Linked DNA regions of Homo sapiens: region 2 is linked to region 1. Evidence: promoter capture Hi-C in 16 types of primary human blood cells and fetal thymus (Javierre and others, 2016). All regions are on one chromosome and are shown on one strand. Each heading gives the region's core, a stretch centred on a gene start or on the middle of the fragment in contact. The rest is flanking DNA. Distances are from core to core; before and after follow the strand shown.

Evidence for each region. Contacts are between HindIII fragments. The CHiCAGO score rates a contact against its expected background, and 5 or more counts as called.
Region 2: a contact is called between a fragment that was not itself captured here and the fragment with the promoter of CYP17A1 in region 1, in 2 of 17 cell types (M1 macrophages and M0 macrophages). The highest score is 5.7, in M1 macrophages.

What each region holds. Positions count from the first base shown.
Region 1 is chr10:102,835,904-102,839,110 of GRCh38, forward strand. CYP17A1 (cytochrome P450 family 17 subfamily A member 1) reads right to left here and starts at 1,510. Exons shown (of 8, transcript NM_000102.4): 1 at 1,162-1,510. The coding sequence starts at 1,458. RefSeq lists a promoter at 1,470-1,749. The HindIII fragment of the contact is 11,808 bases long and covers 1-3,207 here.
Region 2 is chr10:102,749,283-102,752,736 of GRCh38, forward strand. The region is part of intron 1 of WBP1L (WW domain binding protein 1 like); the gene reads left to right. Among named protein-coding and RNA genes, the nearest start is that of WBP1L, 7.1 kb to the left of the region's middle. The HindIII fragment of the contact is 3,402 bases long and covers 1-3,109 here.

The DNA of each region.
Region 1 (3,207 bases), core at 260-2,759:
AAGCCCACATTTGGAGAGTGCAGATGTTTTGTCTACCCAGTCTGGACTTGGGCCGAGCCGCCTCCTCCTAGAGGTGCCCCCCAAAGCAAAAGGGTCCAAAGCCTCCCTTTTCCATTTCCTGACCCTGAAGATCCACATGACTAGCCTTCTCCATCTTCTCTGCCCCCGGGAGGAAGCCAGCAGAGGTGGGAGCTAGGTAGTTGGTCAGCAGACCTGGCTGATTGGTCCAAGAAAAAATAAACCAACCCTTGGCTTGATCAAAGCTGAGAGGCTGGCAGGGCACAGTGGCTTACGCCTATAATCCTAGCACTTTGGGAGGCTAAGGTGGGAGGATCACGAGGTCAGGAGATCGAGACCATCCTGGCTAACATGGTGAAACACCATCTCTACTAAAAATACAAAAAATTAGCGGGCATGGTGGCATGCTCCTGTAGTCCCAGGTACTCAGGAGGCTGAGGCAGGAGAATCACTTGAACCCGGGAGGCAGAGGTTGCAGTGAGCTGAGATTGGCCACTGCACTCCAGGCTGGGCGACAGAGAGAGACTCTGTCTCAAAAAAAAAAAAAAAAAAAAAAAATGCTGAGAGGCTGGGGGCCCTGCTGAGTGGGAGGCTCATCAGCAACCCTGAAATGTCATTGTAGAAAACTGCCCCTGTGAGCCTGAGTAGCTGGAAATAGCACCAGGAAAGCAGCAATCCCAGCCTGCAATAGCTAGGCTAATTCTCCCCAGCAGCTTTCATGGAGGACAGTAGTCACTGCCCCCATTTTCCATGAAAAGTAACATGAATCCTGGCTGTATAAGGGGCACTTACTGTGCTGGGTGCTAGGCTAAGTGCTGTACATGCACCTTCTCAGTCCATTAGAGAAGTCTAGGCTCAGAGAGAGGAGTGGAGTGAGGATTCCTTGACCCCTCAGACCACTGTGGTCCTCCCATCCCACCTCCTGGGCAGCCTGGTAGAGGAGACATTCCTTTAATTCTTCCTGCCTAATTTAGAGGCTGGGTGGGGGTCTGAAGGTTCACTCCCTTCACATCATCCCACTAGTCTACTTTGGGAAGAATTACAGGTTGTTGGAGCTGGAAGCCCCATTCTAGGCATGGTCTGAAGACCTGAACAATCCCAGGGGGTGGTGAAGGGGGCAGGGAGGAGATGGGCACCACTTACCATTTGAGGCCGCCCAGAGAAGTCCTTGCCCTTCTTAATAAGCACCTCCTTGGCCAGCTGGTGGTGGCCGACAATCACTGTAGTCTTGGTGCCCATACGAACCGAATAGATGGGGCCATATTTTTTCTGCAGCTTGAAGAAGTTGTTATGCATATGGCCGTGTCTGGGGAGGAATGGCAGGCTGCCCACCAGGGGCAGGGACAGGAGGCTCTTGGGGTACTTGGCACCAGGGCACCTTCTCTTGGGCCAAAACAAATAAGCTAGGGTAAGCAGCAAGAGAGCCACGAGCTCCCACATGGTGGCTGGGTGCCGGCAGGCAAGATAGACAGCAGTGGAGTAGAAGAGCTGTGGCAACTCTAGGGCACAAGGAGGCCTTTTAAAGGGCTACCCTGATCTTCACCTTGACTTTGTGTTATCTCTTGCCTTGTGGAAAGATTCTCCTGGAGCCCAGCCAGGCCTGAGCTCATATCCAGAAGGGAGAGAGGCGGTGGGAGTGAAGGCCTCCTCAAGGGCTGGCTCAACTCCAGGGCAAACCTCCGGAGGAGGAGCTAGGTAAGGGAGGTCAGTTGATCACCCTCTGAGGAGCTCCCCATGCTTGAATGACTCCAGAGTGCGAATGGTATCTGGGCTCAGGAGTCAAGGCTTGGAACTTTCCATGTTGCAAAATCAAAATCACTGGACAGATGACAGATTCAGGAGGGTCACAAGTAGCAGGGACTGTTAAAGGTCTTTTATGCTTCTTTTTTTTTTTTTCAGAGTCTTGCTCCATCACCAGGCTGGTGTGCAGTGGTGTGACTGTCCATGCAGCCCTGGCCCTCCAGCCCATGTGGTTTTGGCAGCGATAAGGGCTGTGGGTTAATGGTCCCCAAAATAAAAATGTACATGTGTATGGGAACGAAAGGGGTGCTAAGCTGTGGGGAGCGGTGGAAGGGAAGGGAGAGATAGGTCAGTACTAGGAATGCCAGAGGTGGGAGGCCGTTTCATAACATTTCTTGTTGATCAAAATGCCATCAACACCTTCTTTGCTCATCAGCAGGACTAGCGTACTGGGGGAACCCACCCCCAATATTTCAACGTAGGTTCTTTCTATAAGTGTCAGCCGGCTGAGAAATAAAGAGAGACAGTATAAAGAGAGGAATTTTACAGCTGGGCCGCCGGGGGTGGCATCACATATCGGTAGGACTGTGATACCCACCTGAGCCTCAAACCAGCAAGTTTTTATTAAGGGTTTCAAAAAGGGGAGGGGGTGTAAGAACAGGGAGTAGGTACAAAGATCACATGCTTCAAAGGGCGAAAAGCAGAACTACTAATAAGTGTCTAACAAAGATCACATGCTTCTGAGGGAAAGGACAAAGGGCAAAAGCAGAACTACCGATAAGGGTCCAACAAAGATCACAAGGCAAAGGGCAAAAGCAGAACCACTGATAAGGGTCCAACAAAGATCACAAGGCAAAGGGCAAAAGCAGAACTACAGATGAGGGTCTATGTTCAGCGGTGCACATACTGTCTTGATAAACACCTTAAACAACAGCAAACAGGGTTCGACAGCAGAGAACCGGTCTGACCACAAATTTACCAGGGCGGAGTTTTTCCCCACCCTAGTAAGCCTGAGGGTACTGCAGGAGACCAGGGCGTATCTCAGTCCTTATCTCAACTGCACAAGATAGACATTCCCAGAGCGGCTGTTTATAGACCTCCCCCCAGGAATGCATTCCTTTCCCAGGGTATTAATAATAATACTCCTTGCTAGGAAAAGAATTTAGTGATATCTTCCCTACTTGCATGTCCATTTATAGCCTCTCTCAAGAAGGAAAATATGGCTCTTTCTGCCCGACCCTGCAGGCAGTCAGACCTTATGGTTGTTTTCCCTTGTTCCCTAAAAATTGCTCTTATTCTGTTCTTTTTCAAGGTGCACTAATTTCATATTGTTCAAACACATGTCTTACAATCAATTTGTACAGTTAACACAATTATCACAGTGGTCCTGAAGTGACAAACATCCTCAGCTTACAAAGATAACAGGATTAAGAGATTAAAGTAAAGACA
Region 2 (3,454 bases), core at 159-2,658, 87 kb before region 1:
GAATCTTGCTCTGTTGCCCATAGGGTTTCTGTCGCTGGAATGCAGTGGTGTAGTCGTAGCTCACTGCAGCTTTGAACTCCTGGGCTCAAGCGATCCTTCTGCCTCAGCCTCCCAAGGAGCTAGGATTGTTGGTGCATGCCACCACACCTGGCCCTATATTTAATTTTTTTTCTTTTTTTTTTCTCTCTAATAAAAAAAATTTTTTTTTAAGTAGAGATGAGTGTCTCACCATGTTGCCCAGGTGGGTCTAGAACTCCTTGGGCTCAAGTGATCCTTCCACCTTGGCCTCCCAAAGTGTTTGGATTACAGGCGTGAGCCACCATGCCTGGCCTAATTTTTTTTAATTAAAAAAATTTTTTTATAGAGCAGAAGTCTCACTATATTGCCCAGTCTGGTCTTGAACTCCTTGGCTCAAGTGATTTTCCTGCCTCAGCCTCCCAAAGTGCTGGGATTGCAGGCGTGAGCCACTGTTCCTGGCCCTCCATATTTATTTATTTATTTATTTATTTTTTGAGATGGAGTTTCATTCTTGTTGCCCAGGCTGGAGTGCAATGGTGCAGTCTTGGCTCACTGCCACCTCTGACTCCCGGGTTCAAGGGATTCTCATGCCTCAGCCTCCCAAATAGCTGGGATTACAAGCACTGCCACCATGCCTGGGTAATTTTTTTTGTATTTTTTTTGTAGATACGGGGTTTCACCATGTTGGCCAGGCTGGTCTCGAACTCCTGACCTCAGATGATCTGCCCGCCTTGGCCTCTCAAAGTGTTGGGATTACAGGCGTTAGCGACCACGCCTGGCTGCCCATATTTAATTTTTTATATCAACTTTATTGAGATATAATCAGGTCAGGCGCAGTGGTTCACACCTGTAATCCCAGCACTTTGGGAGGCTGAGGCGGGTGGATCATTTGAGGTCAGGAGTTCTAGACCAGCGTGGCCAACATGGTGAAACCTCATCTCTACCAAAAATAGAAAAATTAGCGTGCACCTGTAATCCCAGCTACTCAGGAGGCTGAGGCAGGAGAATCGCTTGAGCCCCATAGGCAGAGGCTGCAGCGAGCCTAGATCACGCCACTGCACTCCAGTCTGGGCGATAGAGTGAGACCCTGTCTCAAAAAAAGAAAAAAAAACTTTATTGAGGTAATTTACATGCCAAAAAAATTCACCCTTTTAAAGTATACATAAATTGGTGTTTCAGTATAGTCACAGAATTTGTGACTATCAGTGCTAATTTTAGCATATTTTCTTTTTTTTTTTCTTTTGAAACGGTGTCTTGCTCCGTCGCCCAGGTTGGAGTGCAAACTCCGCCTCCAGAGTTCAAGCGCTTCTCCTGCCTCAGCCTCCTGAGTAGCTGGGACTACAGGTGCCCACCACCACACCTGGCTAATTTTTTGTATTTTTAGTACAGATGGGGTTTCACTGTGTTAGCCAGGATGGTCTCGATCTCCTGACCTTGTGATCCGCCCGCCTCAGCCTCCCAAAGTTCTAGAATTACAGGTGTGAGCCACCACGCCCGGCCCAATTTTAGCATATTTTCTTTACCCCAGAAAGAAACCCCATAGCCATTAGCAGTCACTTCCCTTTCTAGCCCCTTTTCTTCCATCCCTTAGTGACCACTGATCTACTTGCCATTCCTATGGATTTGCCTGTTCTAGACATTTCATATAAAGTGAATGGTACACTATGTGGTCTTTTGTGGCTTATTTCACTTACCATAAGGTTTTCCTTTCTTTTTTTGAGACAGAGTCTCACTCTGTCACCCAGGCTGGAGTGCAGTGGTGTGATCTTGGCTCACTGCAACCTCTGCCTCCTGGGTTCAAGTGATTCTCCTGTCTCAGCCTCCTGAGTAGCTGGGACTACAGGTATGCACCACCATGCCTAGCTAACTTTTGTATTTTTTAGTAGAGATGGGGTTTTGCCATGTTGGCCAGGCTGTTCTCGAACTCCTGACCTCAGGCGATCTGCCCGACTTGGCCTCCCAAAGTGCTGAGATTACAGGTGTGTGCCACTGCGCCCAATCAAGGTTTTCTTTTTTCTTTCCTTTTTTTTTTTTTGAGACACGATCTCCCTCTGTTGCCCAGGCTGAAGTGCAGTGGTGCAATCTCAGCTCACTGCAATCTCCACCTCAAGCAAACCTCCTATCTCAGCCCTCCTAGTAGCTGGAGCTACAGGTGCGCACCCACACCCAGTTAATTTTTGTATTTTTTGTAGAGATGGAGTTTCACCACGTTGGCCAGGCTGGTCTTGAACTCCTGGGCACAAGCGATCTGCTCGCCTTGGCCTCTCAAAGTGTTGGGATTACAGGTGTGAGCCACCACACCTGGCCAATGTGATATTTACTTAAAATAATTTAAACTAAATAGCTGTATGTAGATAGTGACTACATATTGGAGGATACTGATCTAACAACTTTCCAGAGTAGGGATTTGGTACAGTCAAACCTAGTGGTCATGTCATGAGCTCTGGGGTCAGACCACCTGAGTTCCAAATTTGATACTGTCCTTGAGCAAGTTACATAACCTCTTTGTGCCTCAGCTTCCTCATCTATAAAATGGGAATTGTACTAGTATGGGGTTGTCATGAGGTGAAAAGACATAATATATGTAAAGCTCTTGGAATATATTCAATGATTAATAAGTATAATAATAATTATCACCATTATTGCTGTTGGCAGTCCTCAGAGTGTATTATGGTTTGTAAGTTAGTGTCAACTCCCAGACTAACTTCAGGAACTGAGATCTGGAGATTTTGCAAGTGACTTTCTTTATTCTGTTCTATGTCTGAATTTAGGTTTGGGGAGAATTTTGTCCTTCCAGAGGACATTAGTCACTGTCACAGCTTGGGAGTGCCACTGGTATCTAGTGAGTGGAGGCCAGGGATGCTGCTTAGCATCCTGGAATGCTCAGGACAGCCCCCCACGACAAAGACTTTTCCAGCCCAGAATGTCAGTGGTCCCGAGGTGGAGAAATCCTGGCTTAGTGGGACCTGCTGTGGCCTTACCAGGTCCTGTTCATTATTGCAGAGCTTGGGGTCAGCTTTCTTGCAAGAACAACATAGCATTGTGAAGTGTATGAAATAACCTTGGACAGCGAGTTTTCGGTGGGACTTGAAGCTTTGATATGCCGAATCTCACTGCCTTTCAGGTTTGTTGATGTATGTGGTCAGTCAGCTCTGTCTTGTCAGCCAACATCAAACATTTTGAAAACACGTTTTTTTGATTTGTGATTCAGTAAGCAGGTGAGCCTCCCTTATTTACCCCATCTTGAACTTTCTTTCCTCTTGCTTTGATCTGCTCTGTGGTTTTATTTTAAGAACATGATTTGCTTTGCTCCCAGTGAAAGCCTGATGGTCAGTTATTTTCTGTGTCCTCCATAGTCCTGCAACCAATCTGAACTGAGTCATGTTCTTAGAACTTTTTCCTTTCCCCATTCCAAGTCCTGGCTCTACTCTGATTT